Linked DNA regions of Homo sapiens: all the other regions are linked to region 2. Evidence: promoter capture Hi-C in 16 types of primary human blood cells and fetal thymus (Javierre and others, 2016). All regions are on one chromosome and are shown on one strand. The core of a region is centred on a gene start or on the middle of the fragment in contact, and the rest is flanking DNA. Distances in the headings are between cores, read along the strand shown. Region 1 holds the start of NUMB (NUMB endocytic adaptor protein). Region 2 holds the start of ZFYVE1 (zinc finger FYVE-type containing 1). Region 3 overlaps HEATR4 (HEAT repeat containing 4).

Region 1 (3,687 bases), core at 780-3,279, 430 kb before region 2:
GCATTACTTCACATGTTATGGGATGTTAGCTCAGGCTTGCCTTATGTCTTGGCGTCTATCTTATCATGGTCAATGTCTGATCTTTCCTTCAGCTGAATGATTCAGACATCTCTAAGTTATTTTGGCTTTTCCACTTTCCTTTCACAGGCTTTTTGTGAGTCATTGAATTGAATGGGAGGTTATTTCTAAATTGGAAGGTGAGGAAGAGAGGAGGGGGAGGAAAGTTCCGGAAAATAACTAGGAAAAGGCACTTTATTGTTATGTATAGTTACTGGAGGAATAATTTCTGCTTAGTCTGGTGATAGAAGTATGTACTTTATTTAAACTTGACTAAAAATATAGGCTAGAAAAAAGACAATATTTTTCTGAATAATAAACCATACAGTTTTAGACTCTTTGTAGCTTGCTCTGCAAAGAACAAGGAGGTTAGTAAATAGAAGAAATATGAGACAAAGGGTTAGCAGAAAGAAGAAAGAGACAAAGCACATTTCCAAAGTCCACATCCTTGAGGTGAATGCCTCCTTGACAGTGTCTTTTTTTTTTTTTTTTTTTAAGACAGAGTCTCACTCTGTTGCCCAGGCTGGAGTGCAGTGGCACCATCTGCAGAGACAGGGGTTTCACCATGTTAGTCAGGCTGGTCTCAAACTCCTGACCTCAGGTGATCTGCCCGGCTCGGCCTCCCAGAGTGCTGGGATAACAGGCATGAGCCACCGCACGGCCTGACAGTGTCTTAAACTATCCCTGGGTGTTGTTTCATGGCCCATGGGTATATGTATCATAGGTGGGGTTGTGAGAAAGTACATTTAAATCTGATTTAGAAACTGAAAGAGTAATCAGACCAGCATTTTGTTATTTAGGAGCAGGAAAAGTGGGTGAAAAAAAAGGAAAAACAAAAAGCTAATGATGAATATATTTCTAGGAGCACAAGAGTTTTTATAGCAACATTAGATTTCTCAAAAATGCCTACTGTGATTTGTACCCAAGTGAATAAAAAATGCAATCATTTATTCTTGTGCATTGTGCCAAGTGAGGAAAAAAAAAAAACACACACACACACAACCCGGCAATTCATTCAATGGCCCTAATTTAGACTGCTAGGAAGAGGTTTAGAAAAAAAAAAGAGAGAGAGAGAGAGAAGCTTTTAAAGTATCTGACACACAGCTAGTAGGGCTATTTAAGAACTGCTGAACAGAAAAACAAAGTGGCAGTGAGAGGTGGGGGAAAGCAGAATTCTCATTTCCAGAGCATCATAAAGGGTATAATGTGGCCCGCTTATTAGAAAGTTGCTGGCCGGGCGCGGTGGCTTACGCCTGTAATACCAGCACTTTGGGAGGCCGAGGCGGGCGGATCACCTGAGGTTGGGAGTTCGAGACTAGCCTGACCAACATGGAGAAACCCCGTCTCATGCCTATAATCCCAGCTACTCGGGAGGCTAAGGCAGAAGAATCGCTTGAACCTGGGAGGCGTAGGTTGCGATGAGCCGAGATAGCACCATTGCACTCCAGCCTGGGCAACAAGAGAGAAACTCCGTCTCACAGAAAAAAAAAAAAAAAAAAAAAGTTGCTAATGGCTGTCTGGTCAATTGGCAGGGGTCAGCCAGGAGTGGATCTGGAAGCTGGAGAACTCTCAATACGCCACTTCAGTTTATTGACGACATTTATAATTGCAACCGAAGTTGACTGATTTCTGCTAAATGAAAGTTTGCGCTTTGCCCTTTAGCATTGAGGCTCCTGGAAAGAACTTCAATGAAATTGGATGCATTGAGACCAAAGAAAAGAAGGGGACATTTTTATCTCTCTGATACCTTTCTCCCCAGGGCTTGGAAACACTTCTTAAACACAACCTCTAATGTTGGTGTTTTGTAAGTACTACCCCTATGAATAAAGCTAGCAGAGATAAGCTTCTCCTTGCAGGAAGTGAGCTGGAGAAGTGGAAAAGTTTACAGAGAAAACTCTACAACAAAGACTTAACCCTTCCCGGGTAACCACGAATGTGAGCGTCTGCCCCTCCTTTGCTTTCTACTGCGCAACCAAACTGTGCACAAGCGTGAATCAACCTTAACCGTCACGTCTCTTGCCAGTTAGCTTAACAGACACTTTTAGCAGCCTATCATAACTTCGAATTGCCCAACCCTCAACCAATTACAACTAAAGCTTGGGCTAGGACGCTCCAGGTCCGGGCGGGGGCGAATACCGGGTTTAGGAAAAGGGGCGGTAAAGAGCGATGACGGGCGGGTATACTAAACCAATCAGAGAGGAGAGCTGCCGCCCCACTATCCAATGGATAGGTTAGAAGTATGAAAGAGGGTGGGCCTGTTGTCATGGGGGAGGTGGTGGCGCTTGGTGGCCACTGGCGGCCGAGGTAGAGGCAGTGGCGCTTGAGTTGGTCGGGGGCAGCGGCAGGTGAGTGCCGGTAACGCGGGTCAGAGATCTGGGGGCCGTCGCGGGGCGGAATCTCCAGCTCAGCACTCCGGAGGCGGAGGCCGGAGGAAGGGGGCCTGGACTTCGGGTCGGGGCCCGGGCCGGGGCCGGGGCCAGGGCGGAGGCGGCGGGGGCGGCGGCGAGTTCGCGCTGACTGGGCTAGGGGGAGAGGGGCTGGGCTTCTGGCTGCGGAGTTCTCCCGAGGAAGGTAGGCTACGGCCGGACCCGCGCGGGTCAGGCCAGGAGGTCCCTTGGGACGTCCAGCTGCTCCGGTCTAGCGCGCTGACCGGCGGCCACTGTGTGAGGAGTAGGTATCTGAGGAAACGGAAGCGGCCAGGGTCCCAGAGAGGGGGTGACCTGTAACGACCTGCTTCAAGGGCGGGGTGTCTTGGGAATACCCAGGACGGCTTGGGTGCCAGGGAGAAAAGGAATCCGGGAAGCCCGGCAGCGGCCGGTGAGGAGAGAGCGGGGTGGGGGGCAGGGGAACTGGGAGTGGCCCCGGTCCGAGGGAGGTAGGAAGGCCGAGGGTGGCCAGGGTCCCGGGTGACAGGGAGCAGACTTGCTCCAAGTAGGGGCGTCTGAGGAAACGCTCGGAGGGGGTTGGGGACCCTCCTGAGAAAAGCGGCTGTCCAAGGGAGGGGGCTCCTGGAGAGATGAGGAGCAGCAGGTCTTCGGAGGGTCGGACGAGTAGAGATCTTGCACCGCCTGGGGGAAGAACCGGAGCTCCCTGCGCCCCCATAGCTGAGCTGGGATGGGAGACCCAACTGGCCTGGCCGCTCCGGCTCTGAGGATCCCTAAGGGACCAGGAAAGAAGTCCTCGAGGAGTGGCTCGCGTTTGAGACCGGGGTGAGGAGCCAGCAGGGGAGTGGAAGTTCCCTCGGTCGGAGAGGAGTCATGCAAAATGGGACGGAGATGGGCGGAGGTGGGAGAGAATCCCTATAGGAGGGGATAAGGTAGAGAAAGAAAGTTGCCCGAGGAGAGAGTAATGGTTTCGTGGAACTGGCTAGGACAGTAGATATATGAGAAATTAACAGTGGAGCCATGTAGGTTCACAGGTCTTCACAAATAGAAGAAACTTCAGTTTCGTAATTAATATCAAGATGACATCTAGGACCAAAGCAAAGCTCCTAAAAGCAAGGTTAAGTGACTTGTTTTAGAAAAGAAATTTGTTTTAGGATGATGGCAGTAATATTAGGAAATAGGTTCATTGACAGGGTGGGGAATTTGGGAGGGAAAAGGGGAGGAGTAGCTGAACTAAAGGAGTAGA
Region 2 (3,449 bases), core at 238-2,737:
CCCAGGTTCAAGCAATTCTCCTGCCTCAGCCTACCGAGTAGCTGGGATTACAGGCATGCATCATCACGCCCGGCTAATTTTGTATCTGTTAGTAGAGATGGAGTTTCTCCATGTTGGTCAGGCTGGTCTCGAACGCCCGACCTCAGGTGATCCGTCCACCTCGACCTCCCAAAGTGCTGGGATTACAGGCATGCGCTACCGCGCCCAGCCTGAGAAGTTCTGAAACTATAGAAGGAAAGATCAGAAAAATAATAGGTAGGAAAAAAAATTCATGGTTGGCTTGGAGAATACCCTTGAAGGGTGTTAAGTAAAAATGATAGGAGGCCTTTGTTTTGGACTAAACTCCTGCACCAGGCCCCAATAGACCTGGCTAAAATAAAAATGGAGTCACCCATGCTAAAGTTTCACCTCACCAAATCCAAACTAAGTTGTTACCAAACCCAAGCTAAGTTGTTATCTGACCTTCAGAGAAATCAGGAAAGAGGGATAAGGACAGCCAGTTTCCCAAACAGGCTTGTTTTAATGTTGCATGATAATGAAGCTCCCTCTGTTGTAATCCTTACACAAAAGAAGTAGCCTGAAGTAACTGATGTCAACTAATCAGTTATTTTTCTATTGTTCTGTCTCTCTGTCCTCACCTTCCAAGGAAAGTAGCTTAGAAGTGACCAATATGTCAAGGTCCCATGAGAAGACTGAAAAAAAGAGAAGAAAGAGGAAAGAAAAGAATGACAAGAAAGAGAAAGAAAGAAACCAATATGCTCTTTGTTCTTTGCTTTTGCTTCCTCAAGCTTTTCTCTGTCTACAAAGCCAACCTCTCCTGCTCAGCTCATCAGAACATTCACTCCACTTTCTGGAATGAAGTGTTGCCTGATCCTAGAGTCGCAATAAAGCCAACTGAGATCTTAAAACTAAATTCGTTGTAATTTTGTCCTTTGCCAAGGGGGGAAAAACAACAAAAACTTCCCAAGAGTACCTATATCCTCTTATCACTTTTTCTGGTCTTTTCCTTAGTTTTTGCGAAGTGAAATTGGGAAGGTGGAGACTGTCTGTGCTCACACGTTTCTGAGGGAATGGTGTGCAAGAGGTTACTTGAATCCAAATTAATTGACTCACCATTTCCCACTTATACTAGACATTATTACATCAGTTCTCTAATGTAGCACCATGCCTTCCCCAGTTACAACCCAAAAGAACGTGCTGAAACCTGCGGACACCACACTCAATGCAAAAACTCCAAGTCCCGAAATCCTCCGTAGCCTGTCCCCACCGCCTCCTCGCAAGAGCAGCCTCTTCAGTACTGGGAGTTGTAGTCATTCAGAGTCTTCCTTTCCGGGATGAGGGGCGAGAGCGCGCCTCGAGGAGCTACATCTCCCAGGAGGCAGTGCGCACTACGCCCTTGCTGGCGCCGGGATCCTCCCTCTCTCGCTCCTCCCTTTCTGGGCTGCACCGCTCACGCCTTCCTGTTAGTCCGAGCTGGGAGAAGTTCACTCCGATCAGCTGATCCCAACTGACAACAGGAGAGGAGGAAGCCCGGGAGGCAACGAAGGAGGAGGGTGGCGGAGATGGAGATGAGGATGGATCTGCCGGTGTCCTGAGGAATAGCCTCTGCCCCCACTGGCGCCCTGCGGCCCCCCGACGCCGCCTTGCTGCGGCCGAGCTTCTCAGTGGTGGGATCCCCGGGCCGCGGCGGGCAGGGCAGGGCGGGGAGGGCACGGCCCAGCGCGGGGCGAGTGATCGTCCTGGGGCTCAGGCTGCCCTCGGGAGGAAGGGGGGGCGGGTGCGGCGGGGGTGGGGGTGGGGTGGTATAAACAATGGATTCGGCTCCGGGTTTTGCCGGCGTGGGGGGGATTTTGGGGGACCTTCTTTGTTCTTAGGCTCCGCTCCTGCCCCTCGGGTTGTGGCGGTGGTGTCCGGGTGGAAGGAAGGGTGAGGAACCCCCGGCTGGGGAGAGGTGTCGAGGTGGGGGCCCGAGTGGGCAAAATGTTTGGTTGACATGGCCGGGCGTGAGGTGTACTTTTGAAGGTTGATTTTATATTTTTCTCAATTGTGACAAGTTTGATTTTTGTTTCTGTTTTGGGAGCTGGCTGGGCATGTCTGAGGTTAGATTGTAGTAAATAAGATCCCCTAGTCACTCCCTTCGCCTTCCTTGTTTATCTGAAAATAAGGTTGATAGATTGATTACTGTAGGGGAGGAGTGACTATCAGAAAGGCAGGGCTTTACACCTTGTCGGGGCCTTGGAATGCGGGTCAAGGCTAGGGGGAATTAGGAATATAATTGTCAAAGTGACAAAAGCCCCTTTCTTGCCCCAGTTATCTTTTTTCGTATTTTGAAGTTATTTTTAAGTTAGTTTTTAAGTGACAAAGAGAAAAATTATTTGTTTTGATTCACTGCAGGCCTGGCTTTGCCATGGGTCAAAGTAGAGGAATTGTCTCCTGTTGCTCCTTTTTTTTTTTTTTTTCAGTTAGTGAAAGAAGGGACAGAAGAATTACAGTGTAAAAAAATTGTTTTTAAAGATGAAATTGTTACTATTGTTTCTAAGTTTTGAGTCTTTAATATACATCTAGCTAGAGTTGAAACAATCCAGTTACAAGGCTAACCAGGTCGGCCCAGGTATTTGATAGATCTAAAGTTTATTATTACATTTTCATTAGCTTTGTGAAGGCCTCTCCACTCCTCCCAATTGTGGGATGCATGTGGGGGTGCAGAGGGCTGTCCTTCCAAGGACTACTCACTTAGTGATTTAGATTCTGAATTTAATATCTGAATGAACAGAAAATTCCAGTCTGGGAAATAGAGCAGCAAAGTCTCTTAAATGCCTTGGGCCTAGAGGTGGCGTTTGTTGTCAAGAGGAGGAGCTTTAGCCACAATTTTGAGATTTTTTTTTTTTTTTTTTTTTTTGAGGGAGTCTTGCCCTGTCTTCCAGGCTGGAGTGCAGTGGCAAGATCTTGGCTCACTGCAACCTCCGCCTCCTGGGTTCAAGTGATTCTCCTGCCTCAGCCTCCCTAGTAGCTTGGATTACACGTGCCTGCCACCATGCCCAGCTAATATTTGTATTTTTAGTAGAGATGGGATTTCACCATGTTGGACAGGGTAGTCTCGAACTCCTGACCTCAAGTGATCTGCCCACCTCGGCCTCCCAAAGTGATGGAATTACAGGTGTGAGCCACTGCGCCTGGCTATACAACAAGCCAGTGTAAGTGTTAAGATAGAAAATGAGATTTCTGGCCAGGTGCGGTGACTCACGCCTGTAATCCCAGCACTTTGGGAGGCCAAGGCGGGCAGATCACCTGGGGTCAAGAGTTCAAGACCAGCCTGGCCAACATGGTGAAACCCCGTCTCTACTAAAAATACAAAAATTAGCTGGGCATTGTGGCTAGCGCGTGTAATCCCAGCTCCTTGGGAGGCTGAGGCAGGAGAATCGCTTGAACCCGGGAGGCGGAGGTTGCAG
Region 3 (3,595 bases), core at 1,096-3,595, 450 kb before region 2:
CCTGGCTAATTTTTGTATTTTTAGTAGAGATGGGGTTTCACCATGTTGGCCAGGCTGGTCTTGAACTCCCGACCTCAAGTGAGCTGCCTGCCTTGGCCTCCCAAAGTGCTGGGATCACAGGTGTGAGCCACCGTGCCCAGCCAATTATTCATTTTTTAAGAAATGAAAAACAAGATAAATAATACATTGGTTTTATTACTTAACTAGTAATAACGCCATATAATGTATAGCTGAAATTATAACTTATTAGTGAAGTAAAGAATATTATAAGAGATATTGTGTTCCTTCTACAAATGTGTGAGTGAACATATATCGAACTCTGGTGTTAGGCTTTTATTTTTATTTTTTAATGGGCAGCTTTTCAAGCCAGAGTAGGCTGAGAGAGACTACCCTGGTGTTAGGCTTTTGAGATTAATTAAAGAATAATCTCTGGGCATGGTGGCTCACGCCTGTAATCTCAGCACTTTGGGAGGCTGAGGCAGGCAGATCATGAGGTCAGGAGTTCAAGACCAGCCTGGCCAACATGGTGAAACCCTGTCTCTACTAAAAATACAAAAAAATTAGCTGGGCGTGGCCGGGAGCGGAGGCTCATGCCTGTAATCCCAGCACTTTGGGAGGCCGAGGCCGGCGGATCACCTGAGTTCGAGACCAGCCTGGCCAACATGGAGAAACGCTGTCTCTACTAAAAATACAAAATTAGTAGGGTGTGGTGGCGCATGCCTGTAATCCCAGCTACTTGGGAGGCTGAGGCAGGAGAATCCCTTGAACTCTGGGGGCAGAGGTTGCGGTGAGCCGAGATCGCACCATTGCACCCCAGCCTGGGCAACAAGAGCGAAACTCCGTCTCAAAAAAAAAAAAAAAAGAAAGAAAGAAAGAAAGAAAAAAAAACGCCGGGCGCAGTGGCTGACACCGTAATCCCAGCACTTTGGGAGGCCGAGGCGGGCTGGTCACAAGGTCAGGAGATTGAGACCCTCCTGGCTAACACGGTGAAACCTCGTCTCTACTAAAAATACAAAAAATTAGCTGGGCGTGGTGGTGGGCGCCTGTAGTCCCAGCTACTCGGGAGGCTGAGGCAGGAGAATGGCGTGAACCCGGGAGGCGGAGCTGGCAGTGAGCCGAGATGGCGCCACTGCACTCCAGCCTGGGAGAGAGTGTGAGACTCCGTCTCAAAAAAAACAAACAAACAAACAAAAAAATTAGCTGGGCGTGGTGGCGGGCGCCTGTAATCCCAGCTGCTTCAGAGGCTGAGGCAAGAGAATCACTTGAACCCGGGAGTCGGAGATTGCAGTAAGCCGAGATTGCGCCACTGAACTCCAGCCTGGGCGACAGAGTGGGACTCCGTCTCAAAAAGAAAAAAAAAAAGGAGACACCCTATAGCCAAAGAGGCCTTCACTTGGGCTCTGCCGCTCACATGAGACACGTTTGGCATATGCACTCATGTTTTCATGTTTCTCTGCAGCCTGTGAAGCCCCGCGCACCAAATCCCTGGTTACAAAGTTCAGTCCCAGGCCTAACCACACGAAGCAAAGTTCGTTCATCACTTGTCAAAGATCTACGCACCTCCCCCGAGAAAAGGATTGCTGTGGGACCATTTAGATCCGACTACCCAGCTCTTTATCTGGGTAAATTCTCAGAGAGAACATTTTTTTCTCCCATCATGTCTTCTCCCTCTGGAAAGAAAGGTGCTCATCTCTAAGCTGAACACTTGTCTTACTTCAAGATGCAGGAAGCAGTGGACCTGGTCACATTGGGTCTTTTTAATTGATACTGTACAATCTTGTTGTCACTATGTTTATAAAGAGAAATTATTTAACAGTAGACCTCATGTCTTAATGCGCACTATTTACATGGAAGGTTAAAGAAAATTGACATCACATTAGATGACAGAGCATATTTTTCCACGCCCCAGAAAGGTCATGTACTAAATATGGGTCAGAGTTCCAAATCTTTCTAAAGCAGTAATATTGAAGGATCCAGCATCTTTTCCAAACGGTACAAATTGCCCTCTGAAACTCAAATTAGGGCTGGGCACTGTGGCTTATGCCTATAATCCCAGCACTTTGAGAGGCCAAGGTGGGTGAATCACATGAGGCCAGGAGTTTGAAACCATCCTGGCTAACATGGTGAAACCTCGTCTCTACTAAAAATACAAAAAAATTAGCTGAGTGTGGTGGCACACACCTGTAATCCCAGCTACTAGGTGGGCTGAGGCAGGAGAATAGCTTGAACCCAGGGGGCAGAGTTTGCAGTGAGCCGAGATTGCGCCACAGCATTCCAGCCTGGATGACAGAATGAGACTGTCTCAAAAAATAATAAAATAAAATAAAACCCAAACTAGAATCCCATTTGTCTAGGAAAGAAACAGCTTAGGTGACTTTTTAAATCTACAAGTCTTGTCTTGTTCTAGATTAGGTTCTTTAACCACAGCCCACAGAGCAATGTGGAAGCCATGTCACGGGACTATTACAAAAAATCCAGGCCAGCGTAATCATTTCCCCCTTTGTACTATGTGGGTGGATGTGAATGCATCTCTACCCTTGGGAAACAACTCTGCAGTTTCACACGGCAGATTAGCAATTCTCATGAGCCTCAATGTACTTAATATTTGAAATACTCAAGCATCATAGAATAGCTGTAAACTGAATCTATATCATAAGATGAGATTCTGTAAGAGCACATGATACCCAAAAATTGCCATGGATGAGTAAAGACCCAGATTTCCAAGTAGTGTGAATCCAGCTTCCTTTCCTAAATACTGATTGCTATTTATACCCTAAAATGTTTGAGACATTCATTAATGAAAATAAAGACAACATGAACCTCTCCCCTTTTTTCTTCCCCTAATCACATCCTTTCTTCCCGTGGCTCTGTTATTGTCAAAAATATAAAAAGCAAGGCCGGGCATGGAGGCTCATGCCTGTAATCCCAGCACTTTGGGAGGCCGAGGCAGGCAGATCACCTGAGGTCAGGATTTCGAGACCAGCCTGGCCAACATAGTGAAACCCCGTCTCTACTAAAAATACAAAAATTAGCGGGGCATGGTGGCAGGCACCTGTAATCCCAGCTACTCCGGAGACTGAGGCAGGAGAATCATTTGAACCTGGGAGGCGGATGTTGCATTGAGCCGAGATCTCGCCACTGCACTCCAGCCTGAGCGACAGAGTAAGGCTCCACCATCTAAAAAAAAAAAAAAAAAAAAAAAAAAAATATATATATATATATATATATATATATATATATATATATATATATGGAGAGAGAGAGAGAGAGAGTGAGAGAGCGCACGCAATATTTTCTTCTATAAATTCCTGACTGCTATGAAACACGGTGGTGGGGGGGTCTTTGGGGATATGAGCTAACTTCGTAACAGAAACTCTTCCCTTTCCTTGACTCATGTAACCCATGGAATGTGTATTACTTTACACTTTCCCTTTAAGTGAAATACTAATCTAAAAAGCACTATCACATGGATCAAAGTTACTTCCGCATCTAACCTGAGGATTCTGGGATCTGGCTACTATGAGACATTCAAGACAATGAATAATTCTGTATGAGCACTTTCTCAGCCCCTCTATCTTTGAATTTGTCATTTCAT

Evidence for each region. The method cuts DNA at HindIII sites, captures the fragments that hold promoters and counts their contacts. A CHiCAGO score of 5 or more calls a contact.
Region 1: a fragment that was not itself captured here is called in contact with the fragment with the promoter of ZFYVE1 in region 2 in 2 of 17 cell types (naive CD4 T cells and total CD8 T cells); the score reaches 6.1 in naive CD4 T cells.
Region 3: a fragment that was not itself captured here is called in contact with the fragment with the promoter of ZFYVE1 in region 2 in 2 of 17 cell types (neutrophils and total CD8 T cells); the score reaches 5.1 in neutrophils.

What each region holds. Positions count from the first base shown.
Region 1 is chr14:73,457,208-73,460,894 of GRCh38, reverse strand. It overlaps NUMB (NUMB endocytic adaptor protein), which reads left to right and starts at 2,349. Exons shown (of 13, transcript NM_001005743.2): 1 at 2,349-2,402. RefSeq lists enhancers at 953-1,486, 1,487-2,020 and silencers at 2,006-2,205, 2,396-2,485, 2,496-2,625. The HindIII fragment of the contact is 253 bases long and covers 1,903-2,155 here.
Region 2 is chr14:73,025,144-73,028,592 of GRCh38, reverse strand. ZFYVE1 (zinc finger FYVE-type containing 1) reads left to right here and starts at 1,487. Exons shown (of 12, transcript NM_021260.4): 1 at 1,487-1,667. RefSeq lists an enhancer at 1,145-1,344 and a silencer at 1,575-1,784. The HindIII fragment of the contact is 5,815 bases long and covers 791-3,449 here.
Region 3 is chr14:73,476,707-73,480,301 of GRCh38, reverse strand. HEATR4 (HEAT repeat containing 4) reads left to right here. Exons shown (of 18, transcript NM_001220484.1): 18 at 1,460-1,818. The coding sequence ends at 1,696. Among named protein-coding and RNA genes, the nearest start is that of RIOX1, 12 kb to the left of the region's middle. The HindIII fragment of the contact is 5,334 bases long and covers 1-3,595 here.